Linked DNA regions of Homo sapiens: region 2 is linked to region 1. Evidence: promoter capture Hi-C in 16 types of primary human blood cells and fetal thymus (Javierre and others, 2016). All regions are on one chromosome and are shown on one strand. Each heading gives the region's core, a stretch centred on a gene start or on the middle of the fragment in contact. The rest is flanking DNA. Distances are from core to core; before and after follow the strand shown.

The links. The method cuts DNA at HindIII sites, captures the fragments that hold promoters and counts their contacts. A CHiCAGO score of 5 or more calls a contact.
Region 2: a contact is called between a fragment that was not itself captured here and the fragment with the promoter of DGUOK in region 1, in 2 of 17 cell types (activated CD4 T cells and non-activated CD4 T cells). The highest score is 5.1, in activated CD4 T cells.

Annotation. Positions count from the first base shown.
Region 1 is chr2:73,923,577-73,929,020 of GRCh38, reverse strand. It overlaps DGUOK (deoxyguanosine kinase), which reads right to left and starts at 2,141. Exons shown (of 7, transcript NM_080916.3): 1 at 1,969-2,141. The coding sequence starts at 2,110. RefSeq lists an enhancer at 1,840-2,109. The HindIII fragment of the contact is 7,290 bases long and covers 1-3,462 here.
Region 2 is chr2:74,222,147-74,227,590 of GRCh38, reverse strand. It overlaps SLC4A5 (solute carrier family 4 member 5), which reads left to right. Exons shown (of 31, transcript NM_133478.3): 27 at 461-634; 28 at 2,596-2,751; 29 at 4,639-4,723. Among named protein-coding and RNA genes, the nearest start is that of MTHFD2, 26 kb to the right of the region's middle. The HindIII fragment of the contact is 4,313 bases long and covers 1,117-5,429 here.

The sequences.
Region 1 (5,444 bases), core at 892-3,391:
CCTCTCTTTACCTTACACTCTGCATTCAACCTGTCACCAAATCCAATTGGCCCTATCTTAAAATATAACTAGAACCCAATCATTTCTCACCACTTCCACTGTTAAATTTTACTTAAAATGTAACTCAATTTTTGTTAACGTATAACTAGAATCCAATCACGTCTCACCACTTTCACTTTTCACAATACTATAATTATTGCAATACCACTTAACACTCTTCACTTTCAATGTTATCAGCCACAGTGATCTTTTTATAATCTAAGTAAAACTGTCACTTGACTCCTCAAACCTTCCAATGGCTACCCATCTCGGTAAGATTAAAAACCCATGATAAGGCCTATAAAATCTGGCCACCCCTTGGGCTTTTGCCCTAATTTCCCTCCCATCCTTGCTCACTCGACTTCAGTCACAACGATTTCCCTCCTATTCCCCGAACACACTTTCCACCTCAGGGCCTTTCCAATTGCTCTTCACTCTGCCTAGAAGATTCTTCTCCCAGGTATCCACGTGATTTGCTCCCTCATCTTCAGTTTTTTGCTCAGATGTCACCTTCTCAGTGAGGCCTTGCTTATTTTATTTAAAATGACAACTTCGGCCAGGTGCAGTGGCTAACGCCTATAATCCCAGCACTTTGGGAGGCCGAGGCAGGCGGATCACCTGAGGTTAGGAGTTTGAGACCAGCCTGGCCAACATGGTGAAACCCTGTCTCTACTAACAAAACAAAAATTAACTGGGTGTGGTGGCGGGTGCCCCTAATCCCAGCTATTCGGGAGGCTGAGGCAGGAGAATCGCTTGAACCAGGGAGGCAGAGGTTGCAGTGAGTCGAGATCGTGTCATTGCACTCCAGCCTGGGTAACAAGAGCAAAACTCCATCTCAAATAAAATAAAATAAAAACTTCCCTCAATTCTTCATCCCTAATTTTTCTCCATCATACTTATTACTCTCTAACATATTGTTCACCTTGCTTAATTTATGTTGTTTATTGTCCATCTCTCCCTACTTGAGTTCCATGAGAGCAGAGATTTTTATTTGTTCTATTCACAGCTGTATTCTCCAGGCCAAGAACAGTGCTGGCATATGGAAGTGGCTCAAAAGGTGATTTGTTGAATGAATAAAAAAAGAAATTCTCAGTTTGCTGCTACGTCTTCAGTACTCAACACTTGCTAAGCCCCTTTTAGGGGCTCAGTGACTTGGTAGATAAAAGTATCAAGTCAGAATTTATTAATATTAAATCGAAATGCTTTGCCTTCATTTTGCTTTCTGACTACTTTTTATTCAAGATACTGGATCTCACTCTTTTAACAAAATAATTTTTAATTTAATACATGTTTTTAAGTTTAAAAAGTGAGGTTCTTCTAAGAAAAGCCTTAAGAAATTATTATGCAACTAGCACAGGCACAGGGCAAAAATTGTGAATGTGGTATTTGAACGACTGAAATTTAGGAACTCTCTTCGAATAGGGTTGCCAGATAAAATACAGGACACAGTTAAATTTGAACTTTCAATGAGTGATTTCGTTGTTGTTTTGCTGTAAGGATGTCCCAAATATTGCATTGGACACACACTAAAAATTATTCGTTATCTTAAATTCTATTTTAACTGGATATTATTTTTAATTTCTGCTAAATATGGCAACCCTATCTAGGAGAACAAATAAACTGCACCCGCTTGTCGCTTCAATTTCGATCTATTACAAACAGCTAATACAATTCTTGTCCTATCCACTAACTGCGTGGCTTTTATGCCCCAACAAATATGTTCCTGTGGGCGGGTACTGAGGCCCGATATCCTAAAAACAAGGAGGCAAAGATACACAGTGCACTTTGCGAGGGGAAAGGCTCTCCTCGCAGCCCAGAAAAAGAGGCCGGCCGCATCAGACGCAGGCCATTCCGGGCCCAGCTCCTTTCCCAGCCTCTGTCGCCTGCGTGGCGGAGGCCAAGGCTTGGCAGCCGCTTTCCGGCCCTTACCAATGTTGCCTTCGATGGAGAGCCTTCGGGGCCCGCGCCCCGCGTGCAGGCCTCTGGAGGAGGAAACGCCCTCGAGTGGGCTCTTGGCCATGGAACTGAAGGGTGCTCGAAGCCGACTTAGAAAGAGGCGGCCCGCGGCCATCCCACCCACGATTCACACAGCGATCACTTCCGCCGAGAGCACTTCCGCCCTAGGTATCGCTGCTCACTCGCTCCAGCGCACCGTTGACGTAAGGAGATCGTCAGACAGGAAGTGGGTGGGGTTGAACATGCGGCGGGGTGCGCCCAAGAGACCGCTCCGCTATCGCGATGTTTGTAAAGAAGCGTTGAGTGAAGGAAGTTTTGCAACGGTGCAGAATTTGATAGTAAAAGGAGTTGCGGTGCGAGTGGTTTTTGTTCATTGGACAAATAACATTTTAAAAGACGTAATTCCACAATCCAACCACTTCATTTTTGTATAACTTTAAAATAAATTTTATAACTGAAGACAAAATTAAAAATAGAAATTGTAATTTTAAGAGGGGATTTCCCCCCCCCCAGGTGCTTGTTGTCTGGTTTTTATTTTAATATCGGAAGAAAATGGAAGTTTTAAAGTAGGAAAATGACTCAATCTGATGATTTACACAAATTTAACTTTTTCCTATTCCCTGTAATTCCCCTGCACAATGCTGGCATATTATTGACTAAATTAACAAATTAGATAATCAGTTACACCCCATCTCTTAGTTTGTGTCTTGAATAAGTAAATAAATGTTCGGTCAATCGATTTGCATTATACCCAAAAATCCCTTCAGGATAAGGTGGTGGTGGCTCAGGTATGTGACTGGAAATTGTTTAAACCTGGTAGGCTGGGTTCTTGGACGTAAGCAATGGCGAGTAGAGACTTGTATAAAACCTGAGTCCTGCTGTCGGTGAAGTGTGCTCTGCAGGAGGGCAGGGACCTAAGCTGCTGCCACAGGTGAAGCCGGACTGCCACACCCCGTCGTCATAACAACCTCAGAAGTAATGATTTACAAAATGTTGTCAAATGGTGCTTCCAGTTCCAATCGCTTAAATCACCAACAGTCAAAACCAGGAGTCAACAGGCCAAACCGGCCTTCAGGCAGCGCTCTTAGGTGTGGCAGGTTTTAGAAGACAAGGATCTGATTGCAAGGGGGCTGGGGAGGGGCCGGGGGCTGGGATACCTGTCTTGAAGCTGTTCCCATAAAAAGCACGGGACCTTTTTCTTATGTTGATGTATATATAGGATGGCTGAGGTCATGTTTATATATTAAGAACTTTTTTTTTAATCGAATTTTTTAAGGATAACCAGGGTGGGGCGTTAATGGCTACTGGAGCGGCTAAAGTCCTACCCATTCCCATCTCCACTCCAGCAGCCACTTCTGTTAAAACAAAACAAAACAAAACAAAACAAAACAAAAAACAAAAAAAAAACTGCTTACATTTCTTTACCTATGTAAACTCAGACTTGGAAAATATTCATCCAAAAAAGCTTGAGAGGCTCTCTGCCTCGCCAGGATCTTGCTGCCTCAGGGGTGTTGTGAAAGTTAAATGAGGAAGTTGTCTGCAGGCAGGCATTAATCTCCTAAAAGCTACGAGGCAGGAAAATAGGGTCTGGAGACAGGGAACCTAAGGCCGATTTAGGCTGACTTCCTAGAACTAAATCAAAAGGAAAACCCCAACTTTCTAGCCCAAGTAACAAAAGGACCAGAAGCTAATCCCTCTTCTGGGTGGCAGATAAAAAATTGAAAGTACCTCTGACTGGTCCCCGCGGGCAATCAGTCAGGCTGGTGGCAGGCCAAGTCTTTAGTTGCATGGGGTATAACTTCATAACTTTACTTCAGCCTCTGATTGGTCCCCTCCTGCAACCAATCAGACTGATCGCTGGCCACTACTTCATTTACATAGGGTGTACACCAGGTAACCAATGGGAAACCTCTAGAAGGTATTTAAACCCCAGAAAATTCTGTAATTGCTGCTTGCTTGGGCCCTTCCTACCGCAAGGAGTGTTCTTTGATGTACAATAAATCTGTGCTTTTGTTGCTTCATTGTTTCCTTGCTTTGTACGTTTTGTCCAATTCTTTGTTCAAAATGTCAAGAACCTGGGCACCCTCCACCAGTAACAGAGCTCCTAAAAATTATTTTTAAAAATTTTATGGTGAAGTGGCCTGGCGCGGTGGCTCACGCCTGTAATCCCAGCACTTTGGGAGGCTGACGAGGGCGGATCACGAGGTCAGGAGATCAAGACCATCCTGGCTAACATGGTGAAACCCTGTCTCTACTAAAGAGAGAGAAAAAAAAAAAAGCGGAGTGTGGTGGTGGGCTCCTGTAGTCCCAGCTACTCAGGAGGCTGAGGCAGGAGAATGGCCTGAACCGGGGAGGCGGAGCTTGCAGTGAGCCGAGATCGCGCCACTGTGCTCCAGCCTGGGCGACAGAGCGAGACTCCGTCTCAAAAAAAAAAAAAAAAAAAAATTATGGTAAAGCATAGTATGTAGTGAGGAAAAGAGGATGTGTTGTGCAGTGAGGAAAAGAGGATGTGTTGTAAGTGTACAGTTCAATGAAGTTTTCACAAATGGAATGACTGTTACCTGGATTCAGATCAAGAAACAGCATTATCCGCATCTCCAGAATCCCCCATATTCGTTGCCAGTTACTATCCCTCAAAGATAACCATTAGCCTGACTTCAACAGTAGAGATTAGTTTTGCGTTTTCTTTATATAAATGGAATTATATAGTAAATACTTCTTTTATTTAACATATCTGTGAGATTCATCCAGGTTGAATGTATTAGTTGTAGTTCACTCATTCTCATTGCTGTATAGTATTCCACAATGTCACTATACCACAATGTACTCGGAAGTTTCTAGATTTGAGCCATAATGAATAGTGTTGCGGTAAATATTCTTGTACATGTCTTTTGGTAAAAAGAAGTATGCATTTCTCTTGGGTGTATAAGTAAGACTGGAACTGCTGTGTAATAAGTTACATATATATGCTCAGCTTTGATAGATATTCCCAAATAGTAGATAGTTCCACAGTGTTTGTTCTAGTTGACATTGCCATCATCAGTGAGAGAGAGTTCTGGTTTTCCCACATTCTTACCAACAGTTGATATTGTCAGCTTTTTAAATTTTATCCATTTTGCTGTGTGTAATTATAACTTATTGTGGTTTTAATTTGCATTTTCCTGCTGATTAATGAAGTCAAACATCTTTTTGTATGTTTATTGGTCATTTCAGTATCCTCTGTTGAAGTCTTATGTCCATTTTTCTATTGGTTGTCTTTTGCTTGTCTTATTCTTCAAATATTCTGGATGAGTCCTTTGTGAATATTTTATCTCTGTGGTTTGCTTCTTTTCTTTTCTTTTCTTTTCTTTTCTTTTCTTTTCTTTTCTTTTCTTTTCTTTTCTTGTGTTGAGACAGAGTCTCTTGCCCAGGCTGGAGTGCAGTGGGGCAATCTTGGCTCACTGCAACCT
Region 2 (5,444 bases), core at 2,024-4,523, 300 kb before region 1:
TAGGTCCTCTGATCCCCATTTTACAGATGGGGACCGGAGGGTCAGAATTCAAAATCCAGAAGAAGCTGACTCCAGTGAGCATTTCACTGTACCTCTCTCTCTTCCCTAAGGCAGCTATGCAGAAGAAAACATTTTTGTTTTGTTCTGTATTTACTGTGAAATCCCAGAATTCTTAAACAGTTTGTGTTACAATTAACTTGCACTTTCCCTGAATATGGACAATGTCCATTTTGTGGCCAGCTCCAGGGCTCCTCCCCTCACCCAGGGCTCAGGACCCTTTCTCTAAGACCCCATTATGCATCCGCCTAGACACCTCCAGCCCCCCTCCCGTGCATCCTTAAGGCCTGAGCAGGGGGCTTCCCCTCTCTGAGACCCCACCCAGGCACCCCTTCCCCTAGTCCCAGGACCCAGCGGGCCCTCGGGGTCTGGCTGCCTGGCTGAGCCCCCGCTGTCCCCCTAGTTCTGGGAACGCTGCAAGCTCTTCCTGATGCCAGCCAAGCACCAGCCGGACCATGCCTTCCTGCGGCACGTGCCGCTGCGCCGGATCCACCTCTTCACCCTGGTGCAGATCCTCTGCCTGGCGGTGCTCTGGATCCTCAAATCCACGGTGGCTGCCATCATCTTCCCGGTCATGGTAAAGTGGGCACGGGCTTCCCCCTCCTGCCTGGCAGGTTGGCCTGGGCAACCCAGAGGTGCAGCGCAACCTCCCCTCCTGCCACCTTCTGCCTTCCTGTCAGCTGTGGCCTGGCTCCCTCGGGTCACGGAGGCTGGCACAGAATGACCTGATTTGAGTTGTGAGTCCAGGCCAGATGGTGTGGGGTGGGGCAGAGAGGAGGCGGAGGAAGGAATGTCAGAGCCGCTCAGTGAGAACCCAGGAGCCACCCTACCTCCTGGCTCCAGGGAGGGACGGAGAAAGAAAATCAGTTCAACCAGGAGACCGAGTTCCCACTGCCAAAATTCCAACCAGTCTCAGAAGTCGATGCGTACTAAATATAGATCTTTCCACCATTCAAGATAGCTAAATTTAAAAAGCTAAATAGTGAAGTAGGGGGGCAGGGGAAGAACGAGGGTCAGAGATCAAGAACAACAAAACCCAATGATGGTATATATAAAGCTTGAGCAAGGGAAAGGTTACAGGTCTTTCACTATTCTTGCAAATATTGTATAAGTTTGAAATTACTCCAAAATAAGAAGTGAAAAGAATGCAAAGCCAACAACATGTTGCATCTGGCCCCCTAGATAACTCACCGAGGGCAGTGACCCAGGCCCTTGCCAGGAGCCTGGAGTGTGTCAGCAAATGCCTGGGGAAAGCCTGAGGGCTCTGGGGTAGGGGACAAAGTAAGGACACTGAGGAGAACTTGAAGTGCACACTGCTGGGAGGGGTCTAGTCCATGGTTCTTGACCCGGGCTGCCCATGAAAATCAACCCAGATCAACAAATCAGAATCTCTAGGGAAACCCAGACTTTGGTATTTTTATGAGGTCCACAGGTGAGCATAGACCTGCAGCCAGGGTTGAGAACCCCCACTGCAGGGAAAGGGAGATAGATCCTCCCCCCAGTGCCCTCAGGGGCCTCAGAGCTGGCGAAGGGAAAGGCAGTAGTAGTCATGATTAGCATTTACTGAGTACTGTTCCACTGAGTCCACACCAGCCCCCAAAGCACTAATAACCCCGCTTTACAGATGAGAAAATGAGGCTCAGAGAGCATGAGCAGAGTGACCCTGGACACACAGCCAGATAGGGCAGGGCAAGACCCACACCCTCCACCTATTGATTTTTTTGTTTAATTTGCATACAGTAAAATTCAATGTGTGGGTCTATGAGTTTTGGCAAATGTACAGAGTGGTTAGAGACATAAATTCTCAGGCATTACCTGACCTGCTAAATCAGAAACTGGGGGAATCCAGTGATTTGTGTATTAATTAACAAGCCCTCCAGGTCCTGGTGCATGCTCAAGTTTGAGAGCCACTAATTTATGTATTTATTTTATTTGTTTGAGATGGAGTCTTGCTCTGTCGCCCAGGATGGAATGCAGTGGCACAATCTTGGCTCACTGCAACCTCCGCCTCCCGGTTTCTAGCGATTCTTCTGCCTCAGTCTCCTGAGCAGCTGGGACTACAGGCACCCACCACCATGCCTGGCTAACTTTTGTACTTTTAGTAGGGACAGGGTTTCACCATGTTGGCCAGGCTGGTCTTAAACTCCTGACCTCAGGCGATCTGCCCACCTCGGCCTCCCAAAGTGCTGGGATTACAGGTGTGAGCCACCACGCCTGGCTGAGAACCACTAATTTAAAGAATAACTGTAGTTCTCCAGCCCATGGCCTTTCTGAGGCTCCCCACTTCGGCTGTCACAGGCTCCGTCCCTCTTGGTCACTGGTAGGCATGGTCACTCACCTGAGGGGCCAGACAAGAGGAACTACGGTGGAGGGAAAGTGAATAATGGCTTATGGGAGCTTCGAGACGGCTCCAAAGACACCACAAAAAGTCCCTGAACTCAGCCGACTGAGGGAGAAAAAAATCTATGCCTGAGTTTGGGCATTGAGACCACAGTTTTCTCCAAATTCTCACAAAACTTTAGTCTCTCTCCACCACAGATCCTGGGCCTCATCATCGTTCGAAGGCTTCTGGATTTCATCTTTTCCCAGCACGACCTGGCCTGGATTGACAACATCCTCCCAGAGAAGGAAAAAAAGGAGACAGACAAGAAGAGGAAGAGAAAAAAAGGGGCCCACGAGGACTGTGATGAGGAGGTGGGGAAGATGTGAGGCCGGGGCACAGAGGAGAAATTGAGAGACCTTCTCTCCACTTTTGCCAGGGACAGGGAGAGGGCGGCTTCTTGGGTGGCCTGCAGCAGTGCCTCGGCCCAGTCCAGGATGGGCTGGGGCATCTGCTTGTCTTGGTCTGGGGTGTTGAGGGCTCTTCTGTTTATGTGAATATCCTCAGGGTGGGCCAGAGTGAATGAGACTCCCTGTCCAGGGAAAAGGTGACTGGCCATGCCCACTCTTTCCATCACTGTGGGCTTTACGGCCGTGATCACAGCAAGCGGGTTCCTGTGGGAAGGGCCAGGAGGCAGCTCCAGCATGGAAGGAGGTTATGAAGACTGACCTCCAAAGAGTGGAGCAGACTTGGGGAGAGGTGTCTAATGGGGCCTTATAAGTAGACTGGACTCCAGACAGGCAGGAGGGGCTGGGAACAAGTTTTGCTTGCGCCTTTGCCTAGGGTATTGAGGACAAAGATGGGGAAAGAGGCAGGTATCCTCGCCAAAAGGAGACTGGCTACATTTCCCAGATGTCTGGGACAACATGGTTGCCCCATCTGCCCCTCTTCTCCCATGGTCCCTTCCCATTTCATCCCCAAAACACTCAGGGAGTCAACAGACAAGGGGCCAGTCCAGAAATTATAGTGAATCACAAAACATGAGGCAGAAAGATTCTTAATTCATGTGTTCATTACTTATGATGAAACTGTCCCCACAAAAGGAAGTGACTTACCCAAAATGGACATGTAGCTACATTTCTAAGAAGGAATTAAGAAAATAATTCCTGACTTTGCTGGTTTCTGATATGCTAAGCTGCCTGTGCCATCTCCTAATGCTGTGCTTGGTTCCCAATCTCCCAATTTGACCCAAACTCACGTCCCTGCATCCACCCTGTCCTGTTCTCGTGATTTTGCCTTGTGCAGATGAAACCTGTTCAAGGCAAATCCCTTCTGACTGGCTGGTGGTGATTAAACCATCTTCTGATCAGTCAGAACTCCCCTGGTCCTTAATTACTGTGCTCTTCCAGGAAGAGTCCCATAATGCATGTGTTTGTAGATGATTTGTAAAGGTGGGTTCTGAAAACAAAGAAACAGAGACTAAGTGCCTTTTAAAGACAAATACTTCTTTTGTTGATACTTTCAATAAATATCTGAGTGGCTACCACATGCCAAGAACTATTACAGGGTTGGGAAAAAGAATCTCTGAATTATGATATATCAATGGAAAAACAGGATTCAATTTATACAAATTCATTTTACTTGTCTTATAGCAACACAGTTGTTGTGTGAGGTTCATTCCCAAGTGACTGGTTGCTGTGACAGATAAAACTGTTTTGATGAGTAACATTCCTGGAAGAGTTCCGGTCTGTCTGATGGTGTGTATAGGACAGCAGGCTAACTGTGCCCATTCCCCTTCAGTGGACCCCAGGGTATTTGCAGCATCCCCTAACTGTTTAGAGGTGAACAGAATGGTGGTTTGCAATGTTCATGCATGCATTTTCCATCTTGGCAAGAAAGCCAAGTTGTTGGCCACGCGCGGTGGCTCACATCTGTAATCCCAGCACTTTGGGAGGCCGAGGCAGGGGGGATCACAAGGTCAGGAGTTCAAGACCAGCCTGGCCAGCATGGTGAAACCCCATCTCTACTAAAAATACAAAAAATTAGCCAGGTATGGGGGTGCACGCCTGTAATCCCAGCTACTTGGGAGGCTGAGGCAGGAGAATCACTTGAACCCAGGAGGCAGAGGTTACAGTGAGCCGAGATCGCACCACTGCACTCCAGCCTGGGCAGTAGAGCGAGACTCTGTCTCAAAAAAAAAAAAAAAGAAAGCCAAATTGTTGTGTTGGTGTTTATCCTCTTTTCCCACTGTTTTTCTCCAGCCCCAGTTCCCTCCTCCCTCGGTTATAAAGATTCCCATGGAAAGTGTCCAATCAGATCCCCAAAACGGTATCCACTGCATTGCCAGTAAGTAAAACACATGATGTCTCTCCCTTCTTACTACTAGTCCTCCATGTCTTTCCCCTAGGAACTTTCATCTGTAACTCAGGGGGATCTAATCATTTTGGATGCTAGAGCAGCAGTCCCCAACTTTTTTGTCATAAGGGACAAGTTTTGTGCAAGATAGTTTTTCCACGGACCAGTAGGGAGTGGGGAATGGTTTTGGGATGAGACTGTTCCACCTCAGATTCTCTTAAGGAATACGCAACCTAGATCCTGCATATGGACAGTTCACAATAGGGTTCTCACCCTTATGAGAATCTATTGCTGCCACTGATCCCACCGGAGCTGGAGCACAGGGGTTAATGCTTGCTCGCCCATGCTCACCTCCTGCTGTGCGGCCTGGTTCTGCTACTGTTCCATGGCCTGGGAGCTGAGGACCCCTGCGCTAGAAGACCTTTGTCCTTGGCAGAGATCAAAGAGAACTGGGCCACCAGGACTGGTACTCCAACCAGATGGAAACCCCAGAGCAAAGCCTGCAGACTCGACTAATTCTCACTTTAGTTGAGGCAAAATCCCTCATTCCCTCCTTTCCCCAGGTGTCCCCAGATCCCTGTGGCATCTCCTGGCCCTCTTCTATGTTGTTTCAGACCACATCAGTCCAAACATGGCCCACCAGGCCTCCCATGTTTTCCAGTGGCTGTTGAAATGGTTGAGGGCTCAGAACCAAGCTTTTCCCTTTAGAGAA